Regions from separate parts of the Homo sapiens genome. Here all the other regions are linked to region 2. The links are contacts of gene promoters, found by promoter capture Hi-C in human tissues and cell types (Jung and others, 2019). All regions are on one chromosome and are shown on one strand. The core of a region is centred on a gene start or on the middle of the fragment in contact, and the rest is flanking DNA. Distances in the headings are between cores, read along the strand shown.

Region 1 (4,194 bases), core at 789-3,288, 110 kb before region 2:
CAAAAAACAACATCCAAAGGTTCTGTCACATCAGTGTGGATGGGTCCCTCTAATTGTGACTATTCCTTTCCAAAAAATATTTGTCAGCCACTTCTGAAATCCAGATATTCTGCACCACAGCAAGTGGTCTTACTATTCAAAGTGTGACAGAATCATGAAAAGCCCTAACCAGGAATTAACGTTTTCCCGGGGCAGTGTGAGTGCAAGCTTCATTTTCTGAGAGCCAACCAAACAACTAAGTGTATCCAGCAACCTTGTGGGAGGGTCGCTCTTTTGGTACAAGTCTATCAAGGATGAAATTGATGGGGGTTCTCAATGGCCAGTCATGAGTGTCCACCCCAGCCCTGCCCTTGGCCTCAGCTGGAGGCTTGAGAAATTCAGGCAAAGAGAGACACATGTGGCCTGCTCAGGAGAAATAGGAACAAAAGGGACTTGCATAGCCCTGATGCCAAAAGATGACCCAATCCACTTCTTTTGGCCAAGTAGAAGCAAGAAGTAGAGATAAAAGTTCCTCCTTTTTTTAAACAATGAACAGAGGGAGGCTTACCTGTCCCAAGCTCCTTCAGCCTTCTGAGAAAGGTCATTTATCTTTTGCTCAATGAGATGGTCTATAACATGCCCCATGGCGCATTGCACATTTAAGCAGAATATTTCTAAGCTCTGAAACTTGCACAAGATGCGTTTTTCAGTGGCACTATTTGTGAGGACCAGAAGTGCCCTGGCGGGACTTCAAGCCCCCTTAGGTTACCAAATTTTAAGCAAACAAAACTGTGTTGCTGCAGGGACTGTGGTGGGGCCTGCACACTCAGAAAAGATGGCCAAGAGCAGCCTGGGAGAATTGTCTTGAAACAATACTATCTTTCTTCTGCGTCTTTAACTGCTCAAGAAGAGTATGCATATTAAATAGCAGGAAAAAGTTGCCCAATTGAGGCAAAAATTCCTTTCCCAACAGCGCTCCCTCAAGAAGGAATTTCACATTGTGCCCAACTCCAAGTGGGCATTGATGTCACTTGAGATTGCCATAGCAGATATTCGGGTCTTTTCTCAGCCATTTCTCAGATAATTCTGCTTAATGAAATCTTTCTTCCCTTGCCTCCATTTACATTTGCCTACTATAAGCCTGGCTTTGTCTAGACACCAAGGGTCCAAAGGCCAGTTAGACTCTGCCTGACCCATCTGGAACTTAGTTTAAACATTCTAATCCACTGCAAAGGTGTCTTCTTGTTTTGCAGTATGGAGGCCAGTCACAATGCCTATGTACTGAGCACACTGGAGACAATGAATATTTGTTCCCTAGCAATCAAAGTTCTGTAGAGCAATTTGGGCCAGAAAGCCCTGCTGCATTCATTTTATTTATTTATTTATTTTTTGAGATGGAGTCTCATTCTTGTCACCCAGGCTGGAGAGCAATGGTGCAATCCCAGCTCACTGCAACCTCCATCTCCTGGGTTCAAGCAATTCTCCTGCCTCAGCCTCCTGAGTAGCTGGGACTACAGGCATGCGCCACCACACCTGTCTAATTTTTGTATTTTTTAGTAAAGACCGGGTTTCACTGTGTTGGCGAGGCTGGTCGTGAACTCCTGACCTCAGGTGATCTGCCCGCCTTGGCCTCCCACAGTGCTGAGATTACAGGTTTGAGCCACTGCGCCTGGCCTACATTCATTTTAAACAAGAGAAAACCACCAACGCCCACCATCTGTTTTGGACCTTCACTCCTCCTCCCTCACCTGAATTGTAATTTTGACTGTTTTTTTTGTTTGTTTGTTTGTTTCTTTGCTTGTTTTTAAAGAAACTTTGAAACTTTGCAGCCAGGAGCGGTGGCTTATGCCTGTAATCCCACCACTTTGGGAAGTCCAGGCGGGCAGATCACCTGAGGTCGGGAGTTCGAGACTAGCCTGACCTACATGGAGAAACTCCGTCTCTACTAAAAATACAAAATTAACCGGGCATGGTGGAACATGCCTGTAATCTCAGCTACTCTCGGGAGGCTGAGGCAGGAGAATTGCTTGAACCCAGGAGGTGGAGGTTGCGGTGAGCCAAGATCATGCCATCGCACTCCAGCCTGGGCAACAAGAGCAAAACTCCGTCTCAAAAACAAAGAAGAGAAACCTTGCTAATTTAAGGACTGGTAAAGTGGGGCAAACTACATTCATCAGTTGGCATGTTGGCCCTGTCTCCTTTCCCCTCAGTTTTAAAATACGTTTGCTTAAAAGAGGCTTGGTTTCAAGCCATATCCAGGCCATTTCTCTATTTATTTTATTTTTTTGGAGACACTGTGTAACCCAGGCTGAAGTGCAGTAGTGCAATCTCAGCTCACCTCAACCTCTGCCTCCTGGGCTCTAGCGATCCTCCCACCTCAGTCTCCCGAGTAGCTGGGACTACAGGTGAGCACCACCACGCCTGGCTAATTTTCGTATTTTTTGGTAGACACGGGGTTTTGCCATGTTGCCCAGGCTGATCTTGGACTCCTGAGCTCAAGTGATGTTCCCACCTCAGCCTCCCAAAGTGCTGGGATTATAGGCGTGAGCCCCTCTAGTCAATGTTTTGTAATAAATAAAAATAATGTCCCAGGTAGCAGAAAGAACAGATTGAAAATATAAACATGGCCTAGAAAAAAAAAATTCTGTCATCAAGTTTACTCCTAGAGACTTCCATAAAGTCCACACAGTAAGTCTTTGATTCTGTCATTAAGAAGTACAGTGGCAAAGACCATATCTTCTTGGTCTTTCACTAGTCATTAAGTCAGCAATGACTTTAAACTCTCCACATTCCACTAACTGACCTCTACTCTGTTTAACAAGAACAATAACCCCTGTACAGCTCTCTTTAGAGTGGGTAAATTCCTTTAATAGTTTCGCCAAATTCCTTTTAATAATTTTTCATGTCATTCACAGACTCTCCTGTTCCTAAAATGTAATGAATTGGTGACTGATTAGTATTTATATATGAAAAGAACTATAAGGAAAAAAAAAACCCTCCTAAGAAGCAAATTTTGTGGGAAAGATATCCCACCAGATACTGGGGGTCAGTAGATACGTGGATGTACCTCACTTTCCTGTGACAGACACTGGGATATCATCAGACTTACGGTGACCCCAGCTCTCTAGAACACAGCCACCGATACAGAAGCATGTTATTTTAAAATATCCCTTGGCAAATGAAGAGACTGTCCAGCAGCCCCTCACTTTCTAGGAAATCCAGATACTTTTGCCTACACTCAGAACTCTGATTACTGTATATGCATAATTCCAACAAACTCCTCAGGAGGCCTTCCAGGCAGATTCCAAGTAGCCAGTAAAACAACAACAGGCAAGTCAACCCTTGGGGAACTGACCAGTGACTACTCAAGGATCGAATACTAAAACTATACAAATGTTTAGGGTCAGCCTTGGCAGGATCTAACCATTCAGAATCATGAAGAGATACTTAGCAAATTCAGGTTAAGTAAGAAGAACCAGGTTATTTACTTCAGAATTTAAAAATCTAATTCTTATTTATATTTTTAACAGGTATAAAATTCCAGACTTTTTTTTCTTTTTTTTTTTTTTTTTTTTTGAGGCAGGGTCTCACGCTGTCACCCAGGCTGGAGTGCAGTGGCATGATCACGGCTAATTTTTGTACTTTTCGTACCAAAAGTTTCAACATGTTACCCAGGCTGCTCTCGAACTCCTGAGCTCAAGCGATCTGCCCACCCTGGCCTCCCAAAGTGCTGAGATTACAGGTGTGAGCCACCACACCTGGCCAAATTCCATACTTTAAATTTCTCAAGACAGGAAGCATGGGCCTTTCCTTGGCTTTAAAACAGCAAACCAAAAACTGTCCACGCTTGGTCAGCAGCACGGGGAAGCCAGAATGCTATATAACATAAAAGCAGCCAAAACCCCACCATGGAAAAAAGGAACCAGACAAGCACTGGAAATCATTCTTCTTAAAAAAATTTAGAGCTATAAATGTATCTTCTCAAATATGAATTGCTTAAAGTTCTACTAAAACCAAATGTAGAATCTCTCAGCATAAAACCATCCTCAGGGAGAAAAAATCATATTGCAACTAGGCCTTTGCTATCACTGAGCCATTTGTGGCTAACTCACTGCTGGGTGGCCACAACTTTAGGAAAGAGCCCTGAGAAACGATTTTCAGAATTACCAACAAAAATGCCTGCTGGATTAGGAAATAGGATTCTTCCCACACAGA
Region 2 (3,950 bases), core at 196-2,695:
CCCCAGGAAGTGAGCTACTGCGCCCCTCGGAGCACCCAGGCGAGCCCGGGCACCGGGAGAACGCTCTACACTCGGCGCCCAGCCCCGGGACGCCGCCCAGCGCACGGCTCCGGCTGAGCACCCGGGCAGCGGTAGCTGCGGGGAAGAGGGGCGTGTTCCCTGAGCCTCGGAGCCCCAAGGCCGGGTCCAGGCGGGACAGAGGAAGGCGGCAAGCCCAGCACGCTGTCCGTGACGGCGGCTCTCGTTCCCAAGCCCCGCCGGCTGGCGTGGCGACGCGCTGTAGTCCGCGCGCCCTTGCGGGGACAGCAGTCGTGCGCGCCTTGTGCGGCCGCCTCCGCGCCTGCCTCGGCGCGCAAACTTTCCCGGCGACAACCGATCAGGCCTCTCCGACTGGGGCGCGGGGCTCTCCCCGGGACCCAGAAACTGCTCGCCCCCTCCCCTCCGCAGTCAAGACCCACTGAAAATATGGCGCCCTCGAAAGTCGTTCCTCGGTCCCCTCAGGGATCCCGAAATACTCGTCTCCAGGTCCCTCCAGCTTCCAATGGGCGCAAAATTTCAGCTCGTGGGACCGAGGAAGGAGAGGGAGCCGCTGAGTCTGTGTGAGGCCAGCCGCACTGGATGCAAAGCCTGGCCCCGCTCTCGGCCCGGCACTGCCCCCGTCGCTCAGCGGCCAGCAGTTCGCCCGTGGCGAGATTGCCAAGTAAAGGGCAGTCGTGGGATCGGCAGGTCTGAGTGTCCGGCACCGGAGAAGGAACTCCGCACTGGCGGGCTGTCTTAGCCCAGAGCCTCGGCGGGAGACTTGTTTGCAAAGTGGCGCTGGAGTCCCGGCGGCCAGTGCTGGAATGAAGCTGCTCCTCCAGCGCCAACTCTTCTGGCGCGGGGGCCCGGCTGGGGTCGAGGGGACACTCTATGCAGGCGGGGCCGCTTTTCAAAGCCCAGTTACCGGAAACCCAGCGAGAGCCCCGGAGGGGACCGGCTGCCCACGGCCAGGAATCCGCTCTCTGGCGCCGACTGCGAGGCTGTTTGCAAACCGCTGCGCCCGGGTCCGGTGCAGTGAAACATACATGTGCAATAGACAGGTGCATTAATTTCATTTTATTTTTATTTTCCTGCAAGAAGCCCTCCTAGACCATCAAATCTGGGAGCTTTACGGGTTTTTCCTGCATTGGCATCACTCACGAGAAGCAAAAGGGAGGAAAAAAAACCCCACATTTTCCTTCTGGAGAGGGGAGGGAAAAGACACGAGAAATTCATGCAACGTGCATGCAGCTGGAGGAAGAGGAAAACCCGAGTGAGCCGTGCGCCTTACCGGGGGATGCATTTACTGTCTCATTGCAGAGCGCCTGCCCGGGAGTGCAGCCCGCGTCCCCCCGCGCGCTGGGCGACCACTCCGCTCCCGCAGCCGCCTCAGCCGCTGCCGCCGCCGCTGGCTCCGGGCGCGGAACAAGAGCCGAGGGCGAGCGCGAGCGCACTGCCCGAGAGCGCTGGGAGGGCAGGAAGCGCGTCATCATTCGGGGACGGCGCGGCGCCGGTCCGGCCGCGGCGCCGCGCGGCACCGGGGTGGGCCGCCACCGAGGCTCAGGCGCCCGTCCTGGGTTTCCTCCCACGCGTGGTGATGCTGAAAGGGTCCGCGAGGGAAGGTGATGCACCGGCCGAGCTGTCACGGGGAAGGGAGGCTCGGGGTGACCCCGGCTTCCCAGAATTGGGGCTCTGCTGTGTAAAGGGGATGACTGCAGGACACAGCGTCTTGTAGGCTGGGGCCCCTAGGTCCGCAGAGTGCCCTCTCGGGACCTCTGGCCCGGTCCTGGGGGAAGCGAGCTGTGGCTAACTGGAGGGCCGTGGTGGGCGGTGGGGTCTTGCTGCGAAGCGGAGGGCCGTGACCCCAGGCGAGCCTGCTCCTTTCAGCACAAGGACCCTGAAACCTTGCTGGTCAGGTGTCACTTAGGTATTTAGAGAACGACTATAGGGATGAGTGGCGGTAGGGGCGTGCTGTGTTGATAAGAAGAAAATAATTCACTCCTGCTTGCCATGCCCTGAATAAAGTCAGTTATATACCTCTTACATTTACAGTCATTATTAGTAAATACTGTAAATACCATGGAACAATGTGAAGGTTATTCAAGGGGGTGAGGAGACAAAACACTATGTACCGTATGGTCCCGTTTTTAAAAACTGTGATTTATGGAGAAAGGCAGAAAAGACTGGATAGATAAACACCAATAAGTCTCTCAGTGATTGGTGGAATTGTGAGTAATTTTACTTTTTTATTTATCTGTAAGGGACACATTAGTAATTTAAAAAAACAAGAATTAGCCATGACCCCTTTACTCCTAGTACTTTGGGAGGCCAAAGCAGGAAGATCTCAAGCCCAAGGAGTTTAAGATCGGCCTGGGCAATATAGCGAGACCTTATCTCTACAAAAAAAATTAAAAATCAGCCGGGTGTGGGGGCGCATGCCTGTAGTCCCAGTTACTGGGGAGAATGGTGGGAGGATCGCTTGAGCCCGGGAGCTCGGGGGCTGCATGAGCGGTGATCCTACCACTGCACTCCAGCCTGGATGACAGAGCGGGACTCTGTCTCAAAAAAGAAAAAAAAAAGGAAAGACGACATTATTTCCATCCCAATACAGAATGGACCAGGAAATAGGTAGCAAATCTATTCAGTTACTCAAATGGAACTGCTGGCAACTTTTTAGTGTTTCTCAGAGAAAGAAACTGCTGTCACCATAAACCGGAGACTGAATTGATTTTGTAAATTGAAATTATTTTGAATAAGTCCGTTGGAACATTGGATAAGGCTGGACATTCTGTGAGAACAATACCCTGTCCTTAACCAGGCTGATGAACCGGACTGTATGTATCATAGCAGCAAAGATAACCTTAGGGTACAACTTTGTAACTTATTGCAGAATATAAACTGTAAAGCTAACAAAGTATACATTATCAATGCACAGTGAGAGAACCAATTACTTGGCAACTTGAGAAAGTCCTAAAAATTGCAGGGCACAATTTCTCATTGTACAGGTAAAGTATTTTTGTTCACCACGCCTTTTTAAACATTCACCAGTCTCACAGAATAACTAGTGGTGGCAACAAGCCACCTCAGGGGTTGATTAAAAAGTACATGTTTATTGATTTCTGTATGAGCCTGGTAATAAGCTCACTAAATTAATGCCACCTAAATTGTTCCTTGGTTTACTAACAAAGAATAACCATATTTTTATGGTCCAAATGCCAGGTTTACATAAGAGGCTCATCAAGAAGGAAAGGAAAAAATGGTTGCAACTTAAGTGATTTTCCCCTTCCACTTAGTCCTCCGTTCATAGGGCCCAATAGCTTCCTATCAAGCATCTCAAAATCTTTCTGACACCTGGATTTCAAGATTTTCCATTACTTAATGCATCCTCTTGAAAGTATCCCCACACTTTTCCACTACCCATCAGCGGGATGCCATTCAGTAATGGAAGCTACATTCCATGAGAGCAAGAACCTCATCTGTATCTCTGTGCCTGAAGGAGCCTGACACATAGTATTTAATAAGTACTCAATAAAAATCTGCTTTATGAAAATAGCCTTATTTGTTCACTACCTATCTTACTAGTTCCTGAGATATTTGAAAAGTTATCTATTCTATTAGAGTGTCAGCAAAATTCTGGGATGCTGAGATCCTGTAGAGTTATAGCCTTGGTTTGGTTCAGTTACTTTTCAAAGTTCCAGCTAAATCCTAAGGCATTCACAAGGGTGAGGTGCAGGTGTCTGAATATTTGGGCATTAATAAGCCAGATAGCACTATTCTGTGGCTTTCCAAGGTCAATTAAATTCTTTCCCCCAGTGAGAAAGAACATCAGCCTTAGAACTCAGCTTTAGTTCTAGCTTCAAACCAATTGGCTTTGGACACTTCTTAATTTTACAGCTCCTGGTTTTTCTAACCACTCTTAGGGCTCTAAAAAC
Region 3 (3,844 bases), core at 849-3,348, 85 kb before region 2:
AGAACGTGTGCCACACACTTAGCCCAAGGCCTAGGACACTGGAAGTACTCCGAGAATGCTGTTAGAGCTGTTAACTATTTAGGGCGAGAATCAATTTAGCTGCTTATGAAAGTAAAGCAACGTTTCTGAGAAGGTCTACTGCAGCAGCTGGACAATGTTGAGCCTGCAACGCCCCGCTCCCCTCTGCCCCCGCTGCACCCCCCCCTCCATCCCCCCCACCACCTGCCAGTATCAGGAGCACAACCCTTGGGCCAAGTTGCTGCTTGGACCCCAGGCTCTCCTTTGACAGCAGTGCCCTGCATCTGACCTGCCCTCAGTCTACCTGCTCGAAGGTTTCTGCCCCAGTCCCCAGCTTCCAGTATGGTCTCCATTCTCAACATCTCACTGCAAGTGCCCCATGGGCCCAGCAGATACAGTCTGCTCTTAAAAACCAAACATCCGCAGTATTTTCAGAAATGCTGACTTATACAGAACACACCCTACAGAGAGAGCCCATAGGATTCCACCAAGTGAATGTGAAAAGCACAACATTTAAGGGAGGGTTCAATGGACAAACCTACAACCTATGATAACCTTAAGGAGGACAAGCACATAGATGCAGGTGATGGTAACAGGTTCCCCTACTGTTCAATCAGGCTCACATCTCAGACCACTCAGTCTCCTGCAGCTAGAAGAGACTCCAAGGCCAGACAAAACCCTGAGGGTCTCCAGTAACTTTACCCACATCCACCCAGGCAGTTCAGCAAGAGTCACACTCCAGGACAAGTCTTATTTTCATCAAAAAGCTTACAGCCTTACTTCTCCAAGTGTGGTCTAGAAGGCAGCAGCATCACCTGTATCTTGTTAGAAATGCAGACTCTCAGGCCCACCCAGACCTACTGAGTTAGGATCTGTGTTTTAACAAGATGCCCAGGATGCTTTAGAGTAATTAGAACAAAGCACTCTGCCCAAATAGCATGACAGTTTACTTAGGCTTTTACTTGATCTCGTCTTTCTTCATGGATTGGAAGTTTCTAGACAGCATAGACTGTGCCTATCTCAGCTGCTGGTACATAGTAAATACTCAAGAAATATTTGTTGAATGAATGGATGAATAGGCAGTCTACTAACGACTAAAGAGATCTAACCTGTTTTAAGTGCAAAGACAGACACACGGAAGGATCAGAGACAGAAAGAGGATGCATACCTGGGGATGGAGGAAGACATTGAAACAAGGTAGTCAGATAAGCATCTCTAAAGGGGGTGGCATTAGGATGAGACATGATGGATGAGAAGGTACATGCCAGGCAAGAGGATGTTGGACAGAGGAAATGGCATCTGCATCTGCCACCATAAAGCGGGTGCTTTCTCGAAGGCCAGTAAAGGCAGGCCATTGTGGCTGGAGCAAAGTGAAAGAGAGGAAAGTGGTCAAAACTCCCCTAACTGCCAAAGAAGAGAATCAGGACTCGTAGGTTTGGCTCTGGTGATGGAACAAAGTAGCTCCAAGAAGGTAGATTCAGAAGGCCCCAAAACCATTATGACTGCTGGGGGCAACAGAAGGGCCCTGTACGGAGTCCCTGCTGCCATCTTCCAGGCTCTTGGAGTTGGGTGTGAGAGAGGCTGGCCACAGAGGGCAGGAGTCCATCAGCCAGACCTGGCTGGAGATGCCACAGGTCTAGAGCTGCTTGCGAAGTAGAAATGAAGATTACTCATGGTCTTCAACAAGTTGATCCAGAAACTTCTGGGCAGCCGAGCATCCGAGGGACAAGGAGGCCAGTCCAGATGTCACCCTGCAGCAGCGCACTGGCAGAGAAGACACAAATGACATGTGTCAGTGCAGGTAGCCGTGTCAGCGGGTGAGCGACATCCTCCCGGCACTGAACAACACTGCTGGGGTTCAGGTGACAAAGCAGGAGGAGGGAAAAATGCCACACAGGGTTCATGCTCCTGAGGCTCTGTGCAGCAACACAGCTGGCACCCTCTGCCTCCAGTTTTGGTGCCAGCCCACAAGCAGCAGCTCCAGAGAAGCCTCTCTGCAAATATCCCACCGTGGAGTCCAGTCATATGGCTGCCAAGGGTCCTTGGAAATACTCAGGCCTAAGCCCCTCTTTTCACAGATGAGAAAAGCCAAGACTCAGAAGATAGGCCTTGCCCTAAATCAGCAGCGAGGAACAGCAAGGCCAGGAATAGAATTGCAGAATCAAGTCTATAAAGCTTACATTTTACCTGTAAATTACCACTCTAATAAAACTCTGTTTCTAAACAAATGTTATTCTTACTCTGTCTGACTCCTAACTGAAGAGACAAAGCAGCCTGCAGTTCCAGATCTTAACCATGCCCCCAGTTCTCTCTCCTTAATCCCAAATGACTTGCACCAGCCAAACTGAAACTCCTGGTTTTCGTCAAAAACAAAGTTCAAGAAAGAACTGTTCACATTTGAGCAGGGGAAGAAAATCTAAAAATTGTAGAGGGAAACTGAAAAACTTTTTTCAAAAATCTGAATTTATGAGATATAAAGAATAAGAACAAGAAGAAAAGCTCTTGTTCCATACATCAGGTTTACCCACCCAAGACCAGAACCATCCCAGGAAATGCTTGGAGACCACAAAAAATCATGCATTTTAAAGGTTGGTGGGTTATTAATTCAAATATAATCATCCAAATAGTTGCCTCTTTCCCCTGCATTCTAGCTTCGGTTAGCCCTGACACATCAATGCAACCTCGAGCAGATCACACCTAACTTTGCAGATCTTCAGTCAACTCATCTATAAAACGAGGAGCGTGATAAAACTCAGGTGTCCTTCAGCTAGAAAATTCCAAAATTCTGTTACACTTTTGGAACAGAACTGAAAATTAATGTCCCCATTAAGTCGGCTTATACAAAGTTTATTTTCTTAACTTGAAGAAATGAAAGTCATTATAAATTTAAATTACCATATCTCTTAGGAAATAATTACTAAGTTGGTGTCACAGTGGTTGCATTCTGTTTCTAGGGAGTAAGCTTCAGCAATGACAAATCGTTAAACGATTCTTCAGGGAGACAGAGCCAAATACCCCACCCTCACTAAATGGGTATTTGGCTCTATTTCCCCAAAGGTCCATTATTATTTATAAGGCAAAAATTAGGGTTTCTTTTGCATAGCGTAGAACTCAGGCAGTGAGGTCATTTGTTTTGAAACTGCAGCAACCAGTCCCACTTTTTTTTTTTCCATTAGCATTCTAGTTACTCTGGGTCAAGAGAGTGAGATGCAGATTTCAGAGAACAGTCAAAGGCTGCAAGGCCACCCACAGCATCGTCAAGGATTCCACCTGGGACAGCCCGGAGTCTAACCTACAGCTCATTTTCCTTTCACTCTCAAACGTGAGAAGCCAATGACGACTCAGACACAAGCAAACCAAACATATTTCAAGGAATCGTCAACAGCCTCAGGGTCCATTTAAAAAACAAAACACTACCATAACCTCCACATTATTCCTTATTCTTTTTTGAGACAGGGTCTCACTCTCCCGTCCTGGCTGGAGGACAATGGTGCAATCATAGCTCACTGCGGCCTCAAACTCCTGGCTCAAGTGATCCTCCCATCTCAGCCTCCCGAGTAGCTAGGACTACAGGCATGCACTGCCACACCTGGCTAATTATTTTATTATTTTATTTTTTGTAGAGACAGGGTCTGACTATGTTGGTCTCAAACCCCCAGGCTCAAGCAATCCTCTCACCTCAGCCTCCCAAAGCACTGGGATTATAGGCATGTGCCACCAAGACTGGCCCATATTATCCCTTATTCTTACTGAGTGAAAAAGGGGTGGAGAAGGGATGACAAATTCCTCTGAGAATGATAGATGCTTTCACTCAAAAAGGAGAACA

What was found. Contacts are between HindIII fragments. The study calls those that stand out against the background at their distance.
Region 1: a contact is called between a fragment that was not itself captured here and the fragment with the promoter of TLN2 in region 2, in 2 of the 25 tissues and cell types used here (aorta and stomach).
Region 3: a fragment that was not itself captured here is called in contact with the fragment with the promoter of TLN2 in region 2 in 3 of the 25 tissues and cell types used here (aorta, bladder and dorsolateral prefrontal cortex).

What each region holds. Positions count from the first base shown.
Region 1 is chr15:62,497,515-62,501,708 of GRCh38, reverse strand. The region is part of intron 1 of TLN2 (talin 2); the gene reads right to left. Among named protein-coding and RNA genes, the nearest start is that of TLN2, 110 kb to the right of the region's middle. The HindIII fragment of the contact is 4,314 bases long and covers 1-4,194 here.
Region 2 is chr15:62,388,045-62,391,994 of GRCh38, reverse strand. TLN2 (talin 2) reads right to left here and starts at 1,445. Exons shown (of 59, transcript NM_015059.3): 1 at 1,310-1,445. RefSeq lists enhancers at 423-1,037, 1,956-2,025 and silencers at 1,216-1,545, 1,593-1,789. The HindIII fragment of the contact is 23,885 bases long and covers 1-3,950 here.
Region 3 is chr15:62,474,264-62,478,107 of GRCh38, reverse strand. The region is part of intron 1 of TLN2 (talin 2); the gene reads right to left. Among named protein-coding and RNA genes, the nearest start is that of TLN2, 86 kb to the right of the region's middle. The HindIII fragment of the contact is 4,440 bases long and covers 1-3,844 here.